2 separate regions of the Homo sapiens genome follow, and region 2 is linked to region 1. Evidence: promoter capture Hi-C in human tissues and cell types (Jung and others, 2019). All regions are on one chromosome and are shown on one strand. Each heading gives the region's core, a stretch centred on a gene start or on the middle of the fragment in contact. The rest is flanking DNA. Distances are from core to core; before and after follow the strand shown. Region 1 holds the start of RECQL5 (RecQ like helicase 5). Region 2 holds the start of MXRA7 (matrix remodeling associated 7).

Region 1 (4,915 bases), core at 1,106-3,605:
CACTTTGGAAGGATGAGGCGGGTGGATCACCTGAGGTCAGGAGTTAGAGACCAGAATGGCCAACATGGTGAAACCGTCTCTGTGAAAAATACAAAAATTAGCCAGGCGTGATGGCAGGTGTCTGTAATCCCAGCTACTCAGGAGGCTGAGGGCAGGAGAATTGCTTGAACCTGGGAGGTGGAGGTTGCAGTGAGCAGAGATCGCACCACTGCACTCCAGCATGGGCGACAGAGCAAGATTCCGACAAAAAAAAATAATAATAGGTTAGCTAGGCATGGTGGCGCCCACCTGTAGTCCCAGCTACTGGGTAGGCTGAGGTGGGAGGATCACTTGCGCCCAGGAGTTCAAGACTGTAGTGAACTATCTATGATCACACCACTGCACTCCAATCTGGACAGCAGAGTGAGACCCTATCTCAAAAAAAAAAAAGAAAAGAAAAAGCAGGTGAAAACGAATTTTCCTTTCTTATCTTGTTAATAAACTGAGAAGACTTAAATGAGCCCCAACCAAGATTAAAAATAATGCAGAGTTGACTGTAGATATAAATGATACACCAGTTAGGATGAATGCCTGCTATAAATGGAGTAAATCATTTAAACAGGGAAAAATCAACATAAAACACCCATTGATATCTGGGTTAAATAAAATAATCCACTATCTTTTCCCCCAAATTTCAATTCAAAGATTAATAAAAAATGATCCATGTGAAAATACATTTTCAAACAGATCTGATATCCAATCCAGTTTCTTCCACTAATACTAAAACAAAACGGGAGAGCAAGGGATGGAGCTAACCATGAAATGGAACACTGTTGGCACAGTTCCAAAATCTGACAAATGAAATTGTGCTTTCAGTAGCTCTGGATCTGGGAGATTTACCTACCGACTGTCTACTGTTCTCATCTTCTTCTTCTTCATAACCATCTTCATCACCCCCTAGACGAGAAAAGTCATCCTCCCCATAGGCATCAGATACCAATCCGCCTTTCTCCTCTGAAAGGTTAAAAAACAAACAAACAAACAAAAAGCAAGAAAAAAAAAACAAGAGTTACAATGTAAGAAAAAATGTCCAGAGATTTGAGTGGCCAAGACTATCTCTGAAGATACAAAGGGAACCTAAATCTCATGTTAAGTTACAATAGGCCCAGATTCGGCTCTCTGAGAAGGCCAGCATTTACTGAATAAAATCATTAAAAGGTCAGGGAACAAAACCGAGTACTAAATTCTGTTTCTAATGCTATAAACACTAGATAAACACTAAAGTGTTTATAGGAAACCATCAGAGAACTTTCTGACTGGAAGAGACCACACAAAATCACAAAACATGGAAGTACCTAACCTAATCCAATCCCCTTCACTTTCCAGATGAGGAAGCTAAGGTCCTGATATGTTGTTAGGTAACTTGTTCTTTATTCTCCCAAAGGAATCTGTTTCCATTATCTAACATTGTGCTTCTCAACCTGAGGAGGAGAACATCACCGTTAGGCTTTAAAAACTCACAAAATAAGAAAAATCACCTGGGATCCTTAAAAAGTTCACAAATGCCCACATCCTACCCCAGTTCTACCGAATTAGGTTCTCTCACTTTGGGCATCAGATACGTTTGTTTTTAAAAGCTCCAAGATGTGTTTAGGGCACATTCCTAACTAAAAGTTATAAAGTTAACGAACACAATCTTTACCATCTTCCACGTATGTTTTACTTATCGCTCTCCCTCATCAAACAACGAGCCCAGGGGAAACAGGCAGTGGCTGAGCAGCCGCTCCCTCTTCGTCCATCCCTCTGTCTATCACTATAGCCGGCACGGAGTCTTTCAGTAAGTTTAGGCAAATTAATCGAAATAACGGGAAGGAGATTCTTCATTCTTAGTCCACAGTCTCTAATGCTCTATCTCACCCCGGACCCTGGACCATTCTTCGGGGTCCGGTGCTTGGAGCACAATGACCATCTTGTTCCCTCCCGCCCAGCGAGGGTACAGCATTCCGGGCAGACACCCGATTCCCCCTTCCAGCTTCGCACTTGGGCCTTACCAGCCGCGCTGCCCACCGCCTCGATTCCAGCCTCGCCATCAGACTCGGGCTCTGAATCTTCCGCGTAAACTGCGAGAGACGACAGAACATTCTTCTTCCCCGCCATCTTATTCCCACAGCCCGGGCGTGGCTCACTCCTATGACTCAAGACGCCGACTTCCGGGCGGAAAGGCAGGTTCTTTCGGATCCCAGGAGACCCCCGCGCCACACTGGAAACCAATCAAAACGGCAGTTTCCTGCGCCTGGCTCCGCCCTCATGCCAGCGCTCGCGCTACGTCATCACTGCGCGACGGATATAAGATTGCGTGGGTTCTGCCTAAAGCTGAATTCCCAGCGCTTTGGCTTCTCTGAGTTGGGGTTGTGTATAGGGGTCTTCGAACAGTTCCGGAACCAGCCAGCAGCCTTTAATTCTTGGGCGGACCACGGCCGGTTCTGATATCTTAGGGTGAAGAGAGGGAGGTGTCGGCCAGCCAAGAGAGAAAATTGCGGATCTTGGGCTCAGGAAGACGGGAGAAGGGGTTCGGGGTCCCGGGGTGGAAGAACGGTCGTCGTGGTTGCGCTTATAGAAGTAGGAGCAGGTGGTGGATCTTAGGAAAACGGTTCCCCGTTCTCCAAGCTGTTCTGAAGACATTTATGTTTCTTCTCTTGATCTGATTTCTAGCTCTGTGCTATACCGTGGCCTGGAATAGTTCAATGTTTTCATTTTCATTGAGCGTAAAAGTGGAGATGTTAATTACTGAGGAATGTATTGCTTGAGGCAGTTCACCTTCAGCTTTATTACTTAAAAATAATACATTATTTAAGTGTAATATAGCAAATTGTTACAGAAAAATAATCTGTATTTTTAATGCAAAACAGAGGGTTCTCGTGGCAACCTTTTACTACCTTTGCCTTAACCTTTGGCCACTGTTCTTGGCTAAGATGAGCAGCCACCATACCACCTTTCCTTTTGACCCTGAGCGGCGAGTCCGGAGTACGCTGAAGAAGGTCTTTGGGTTTGACTCTTTTAAGACGCCTTTACAGGAGAGTGCGACCATGGCTGTAGTAAAAGGTAACATTACCAAGCTACCTTCCTTTAAATTTATGCTGGCTATACCATAACGCTGCGGCAGAACACCCTCCTCCTCACCCTTCGTACTGCCTCACCTTTGGTCCATAACTGGATTTGGAAATCTTTAGAGTTGTCAAAGCTTGTAGTTTCGTTTATTTGTTTTAATTAGAGATGGGGTCTTGGCATGTTGCTCAGGCTGGTCTCCAAATCCTGGGCTCAGGCAATCCTCCCACCTCGGCCTCCCAAGGTGCTGGGATTACAAGCATGAGCCACCACGCCCGGCCCAAAGCTTGTAGTTTTAGTGGCAGAACCACCCAGCTGGTCTATATTTCATAGCTAGATTTACACATGGTCTTTGAAAACACTTCAGATTCTCATTATTGTTCGTTTGTACACACAAACGAACAGCAACAGTGAGGGTGGTAGGAATAACTTAACTCGGTCACTGGCCTCCTAGGTAATTCCCTTGTTGCAGGTTGAGTGGCCTTGGTCCCAGATAGAGAAGGAAAGAGTAATAATGTTATAAACCTGAGATACGGTGACAAATGGAAGTTGCCAAGAGGCGAGCAGCAATGTAATATTAATGATACATGTCTAAACAAAAGCCCTCTAAGTAATGTCCTCTCATGTCTACACAGATGTACCCACTCATCTAGCAGTACTCTGCTTTCATGGCTGTTTAGTTCAATCATCCATATCACAGCAGACTCAGACTTCTTTTTTTTTTTTTTTTTTTTTGAAACAGAGTCTTGCTCTGTCGCCCACACTGGAGTGCAGTGGCGCGATCTCGGCTCACTGCAACCTCCGCCTCCTGGGTTCAAGCAATTCTCCTGCTTCAGCCTCCTGAGTAGCTGGGATTACAGGCACGTGCCACCATGCCTGGGTAATTTTTGTATTCTTAGTAGAGACAGAGTTTCACCATGTTGGCCAGGCTGGTCTCAAACTCTTGCCCTCGTGATCTGCCTGCCTTAGCCTCCCAAAGTGCTGGGATTACAGGCGTGAGCCACTGCGCTTGACCCAGACTTTTTAAATCTTGTTTTTAACCATTACTAGAAATGGTTTGGGCATGTATCCAAGTTTCCCAGGATCCTTGCCTTTTTCATAGAAAGGACAGGAGGGGAATTAGGATTACATCGAGACCCTCCCATGTGCCAGACACTCTGCTAGGTGCTTTTCCTACATTCTCATTTAATTTTCAACAACTTCAATGAAAAGGCAGGAAGCACTGAGATATTGTTGTCTTGTATTTTTTCAGGTAACAAGGACGTCTTTGTGTGCATGCCCACAGGGGCAGGAAAATCCCTATGCTATCAGCTCCCTGCTCTGTTGGCCAAAGGCATCACCATTGTAGTCTCTCCTCTCATTGCTTTGATTCAGGTGAGGCTTAGGGCAATGAAGATGGTAGCCCAAAAAGATTCGGGGAAGGTTTTTTGAGGCTGGAAATTTCACTTCTCTATTGGTCTTTTGCCTCTTATTTTCTTTTCTTTTTCTTTTTCCTTTTTTTTTTTTTTTTTTGAGACAGAGTCTTACTCTGTCGCCTAGGCTGAAGTGCGGTGGTGCGATCTTGGCTCACTGCAGCCTCCACCTCCCGGCTTCCAGCAATTCTTGTGCCTCAGCCCCCCATATAGCTGGGATTACAGGTGTATGCCACCATACCCGGCTAATTTTTGTATTTTTAGTAGAGATGAGGTTTCACCATGTTGGCCAGGCTGGTCTCAAACTCCTGACCTCAAATGATCCGCCCACCTCGGCCTCCCAAAGTGCTGGGATTACAGGTGTGAGCCACCACACCCGCCCCTGCCTCTTATTTTCTATGATTTGCCTATCTCATTCG
Region 2 (4,365 bases), core at 977-3,476, 1.0 Mb before region 1:
AGGAGGCAGAGGTTGCAGTGAGCTGAGATCAAGCCACTCCAGCCTGGGTGACAGACCGAGACTCTGTCTTTAAAAAAAAAGAAATGTCATCTAAGCCCCAGTGAACCTCCTGGGAGGAGAGCTAGCCCTGGCCAGCTGTCTCCAAAGTGACTGGATGCTACAGAAGAACTGGGACTGTCTTCTGCACACTCGTGCCTCCTGGAGTTGTCAGAACACTGAGCAGTCTCCTAGTTCTGCGTCCGTCTAGCCATGGGGTCTGCCATGAAAGCCTGTGGATCTGCTATTGGGTTGGTATTTTAAACTTTCACTTGGGTGAAACTTGTTCATCATTTTAAATAAAGCAACATGATTTGGAGTTGTGTTTTTGGCATTGTTTTGTCCTTATTTTCTTTCTTACTCATTTGAAAGTCAACAATGTACTTTGTCAGCAGAACAGGACTTTAAAAAAATGTATTTACACTTTAAAACAATGGGATGGAGCACAAAATTAAGGCCCTGGGCCAGGAGCATTGATGCACACCTGTAATCCCAGCTGCCCAAGAGGCTAAGGCAGGAGGATCACTTGAGCCCAGGATGTCGAGGCTGCAGAAAGCTATGATCATGCCTGTGAATAGCCACTGCACTCCAGCCTGGGCAACATAGTGAGACCCTGTCTCTTTAAAAAAAAAAAAAGAAAGAAAGACCCTGTCTCTTTAAAAAAAAAAAAAAAAAATTGGCTGGGCGCGGAGGCTCACGCCTGTAATCCCAACACTTTGGGAGGCTGAGGCAGGCAGATTGCCTGAGGTCAGGAGTTCAAGACCAGTCTGGCCAACACGGTGAAACCCTGTCTACTAAAAACAGAAAAAAATTAGCCGGGCATGGTGGTGGGCGCCTGTAATCCCAGCTACTCAGGAGGCTGAGGTGGGAGTTTCGCTTGAACCCGGGAGGTGGAGGTTGCAGTGAGCCGCGATTGCGCCACTGCACTCCAGCCTGGGCAACAGAATAAGACTCCATCTCAAAAGAAAAAAAATAGGCCCATACACTGGCTGAAACTTCCACAGTGGTTAAAAGCTAGTCGCCCGTAGATAAAGCCTATTTCACATTTTATAGTTTATAGGCTCTTTTCATCAACCACCACTAAAAGGAAGTGCATGGCCCGCTTAATATCGTGCAGTGCAGCAGAATTCAGCTCTCCCTGTTGCTGAGGGGTCTCGTTTGTGTATCTTCATTTAAAAAGAAGCACTCCATCTAATATCTGGTTTATATCACAGATCAGCTCAGGCACTGTAATATTCCCAAAAAAGTATTAAAGGCATCCTCAGCAAAAACTGGAACCGTGTTTTTTTTAACATTAGGCCTTATGTTTGGCGTGATACCTGACATGCCCGTCCTGTGTTTATTTAAAATAACTAAAGAGTGGGTGGGGAGTGGTAGGAAAGTATGTTTTTGGTTACAACGTGTTTATCTCAAAATCCACTGTTCAGCAACAGAGGCCTGGGAGGATCTGGAGAAACAAAAACAATAGCCTTCATTTCCTTCATTGTACCCTCCCACCCTGCATGCATTCTGGAATTGTGCAAAGAAGAAAGTCTGGTAAGAGGAATAGCGTTGACCAAGGACCTGCAGCTGAATTTCAGGTCTAGGGGCGGGGGAGCCATGTTACTGTTAACAGGGAGGCCTGTGTTGAAGGCTGCTGGCCTCAGCTCCGAAGGGAGCATTCACTGGCCGGGATCTGGAGATGTCCTCTGTGAAAGTGCATTAAGGCAACCCTGAGGATTAAAAGCAACTCCTGACATGCCTATAAAAACGGCAGTGGCTGAACGTAATCCGGCATTATGATTGCTTTACAAGCCAATCCAGGCTGCCGTTTCCATGAAGCTTCCCGGGTTTGCTTGTCTCTCTGCATTCCCACATTTCCAAAATGCTCTAAGACGAACCGCCGTACTAAGGCCAAAGATGACAACCTAAGGGCACCTCATACAGTATTTCAAATTGAACCTGAGCTAAATTGTGCCCCAAAGCGTCAAGGCTGCCCAGGCCGGGCAGGGGTTGGCCCTCCTGTGCCTCCCAGGTGGTCAGGGCTCTGCCCCCTCAACACCCCCGCCCGCAGCCTGTGCGTCACCCTCCCGGGGCCGGAGGGGGCGGGGGCGGGGCGCGGCGATGGGGGCTCCGCCCCGAGGCGGGGCGCGGCGACCGGGCGCGGCGACGGGGCGCGGCGGGCTCCCTCGGGGTCCCAGCTGGCCCGCACTCGGCGGCCGCGGCGCGATGGAGGCGCCGGCCGAGCTACTGGCCGCGCTGCCTGCGCTGGCCACCGCGCTGGCCCTTCTGCTCGCCTGGCTACTGGTGCGGCGTGGGGCGGCCGCGAGCCCGGAGCCTGCCCGCGCGCCCCCGGAACCCGCGCCCCCGGCCGAGGCCACCGGGGCCCCGGCGCCGTCCCGCCCCTGCGCCCCCGAGCCGGCGGCCTCGCCCGCGGGGCCGGAGGAGCCTGGAGAGCCCGCGGGGCTGGGGGAGCTCGGGGAGCCTGCGGGACCGGGGGAGCCCGAAGGGCCAGGGGATCCCGCGGCGGCGCCAGCGGAGGCGGAGGAGCAGGCGGTGGAGGCGAGGCAGGTACGCACCGGGGCCCTCGCGGCCCCCTCCCCACCCCCGGGGCTCCGGCTGCCGCTGCCGTTCCCCGCCGAGCCAGGGAGCGGGGCCGCGGCCTCCAGCCCAGGCTGCCCCCAGGAAGCGCAGAACCCGCGGCCCGCAGGAAATGCAGGTCCCGCCATGCTAAGCCGCAGCCCCGCAAACTCGCCGCCCTCCCCCAGAAAGTGTGGCGAGGGGCGAGCCCGAAGGAGTTTGTTTGGAGGTGTTTTGCTCTCCCCTCCCCTCGGCCTCTCCCAGCCCAGGGCGTGCTCCGCAGCTGCTGGCTCCCAGGCCTCGGGACCAGGGCTTGGAATTTTGCTCCTCACCCACTTCTGACCCCTCCCGCCCACCGGTTCCCAAATCCACGTGCCTGTGGCTTATTTCCAGGCCTGCCATGAGAGTTATCTTGATGTTTAAAAAGTAGGACTTTCGGGGGGCGAGGGAGGAAAGCTGGCTTTTCTTTTTCAGCCAATTTGAAGTCCAGATTTCAGAGTCAGTGCTGTGGCGTTTTGTGAAGCCCGTGGGCTGGGACTGAAAGAAAAGGCACCCGATCCCAGCAGTCCTTTTTATTGTCGTTTTCAAGCTACACATCTAACACCCTCCTACCCCCACTCCCCCGGGTTGTAGGTAAGCTGGGCCTGGATGGAGTGAAGATGCAGGATAAAGCCCTCCTGGAGCACCAGTGAGCACCCCAAAGCGGCCCTCCCTGCCTCTGCCCCAGGCCTCCCGCCATGCTGTCCATCAGCTCGGCCTTGGCCACCTTGTCCTGCCTGTGGATATCTGAGAGGAGTCGGATTTCCCTCATCCACTCATCCCAGCCCCTACACTGTGTGCCCATGTTCCCTGGAGTTCACCACGCTTGGCCGGTCCAGGCCACCGCCAGGGTCTCCGAGTCGGATTGTAATCCCTTGTTCTTACCCCTGAGCTCCTTTTCTTGGAAGGGAGGAGAGCCGGGATGCGCATTGTCAGCGTGCCTGCGTGTCTGCGTGCCCACTCTGTCCTGTGCTGGACACAATGGTTTACCCTGGAGAGAAGCCCTTCGGGGGAGGAGGAGGCAGCCAGGCTGTGCTCAGAGGCATTTCTCTTTGCTGAGTAAGTGCGCCAGACCCCCTCTGAGCAGGCGCTTTGCTTGACAAGTGGGTGACTAATTGTGTCATTAGAGAGGATTCTAACCAGCCACATTTAATGGGGTGGAGCAGGGGCAGGCCCTGCCGTTCTTGCTTGGGGTGGGCTTCCAGACCTCACGCGGTGATGGTGGAGGGGGCGCGGTTTGGACATGTGCTGATCTGTTGTGTTTGCTCCCATATTTGGGATTCCTGCCTCCATCGAGGTCTCGCGGGAGCAGGAGAGGCCTTTAGACAGTTCTGGAGCCGTCATGCACACTCAGTCAGTCCTGGCCTTACAGGGCTGGCCCTTTATCACCCACACCAGGCTCTGGACTGAAGTGCAAAATGTCCTTTAGCGGCGCCCTGTCTTAGCTCAATCCTGTGGGGCACAGCGCTTAAAGAACTTTCTACAAGGCTTTCGGCTCTCAGCACATGGTACCTACAGGAATAGGTTCAGTGGTGTTTAAATAGGGCCACTCGCATAATTTGCCACTGTCTGGGTGAATGCACGTCCTCTGAAGCTGAATGGGTGCTCTGAAGGACAAGGCAGTATGGGGGTTCGCGTGCCAGGCAGCCCCCATGACATAGGTGCCAGTGAGGATGACTTGAGGCTTGTGTCTGTCCTCCCGCTAAGGCACCCTCCAGAGAGAACCCACCC

The links. Contacts are between HindIII fragments. The study calls those that stand out against the background at their distance.
Region 2: a contact is called between the fragment with the promoter of MXRA7 here and the fragment with the promoter of RECQL5 in region 1, in 1 of the 25 tissues and cell types used here (aorta).

The regions. Positions count from the first base shown.
Region 1 is chr17:75,664,594-75,669,508 of GRCh38, reverse strand. It overlaps RECQL5 (RecQ like helicase 5), which reads left to right and starts at 2,355. Exons shown (of 20, transcript NM_004259.7): 1 at 2,355-2,465; 2 at 2,938-3,081; 3 at 4,337-4,458. The coding sequence starts at 2,952. SAP30BP (SAP30 binding protein) reads right to left here and starts at 2,171. Exons shown (of 11, transcript NM_013260.8): 1 at 2,031-2,171; 2 at 884-993. The coding sequence starts at 2,136. RefSeq lists enhancers at 1,930-2,179, 2,350-2,449, 2,031-3,230. The HindIII fragment of the contact is 12,020 bases long and covers 1-4,915 here.
Region 2 is chr17:76,708,826-76,713,190 of GRCh38, reverse strand. It overlaps MXRA7 (matrix remodeling associated 7), which reads left to right and starts at 2,226. Exons shown (of 4, transcript NM_198530.4): 1 at 2,226-2,586. The coding sequence starts at 2,245. It also overlaps a transcript of JMJD6 not described here. RefSeq lists a silencer at 1,995-2,204. The HindIII fragment of the contact is 3,325 bases long and covers 659-3,983 here.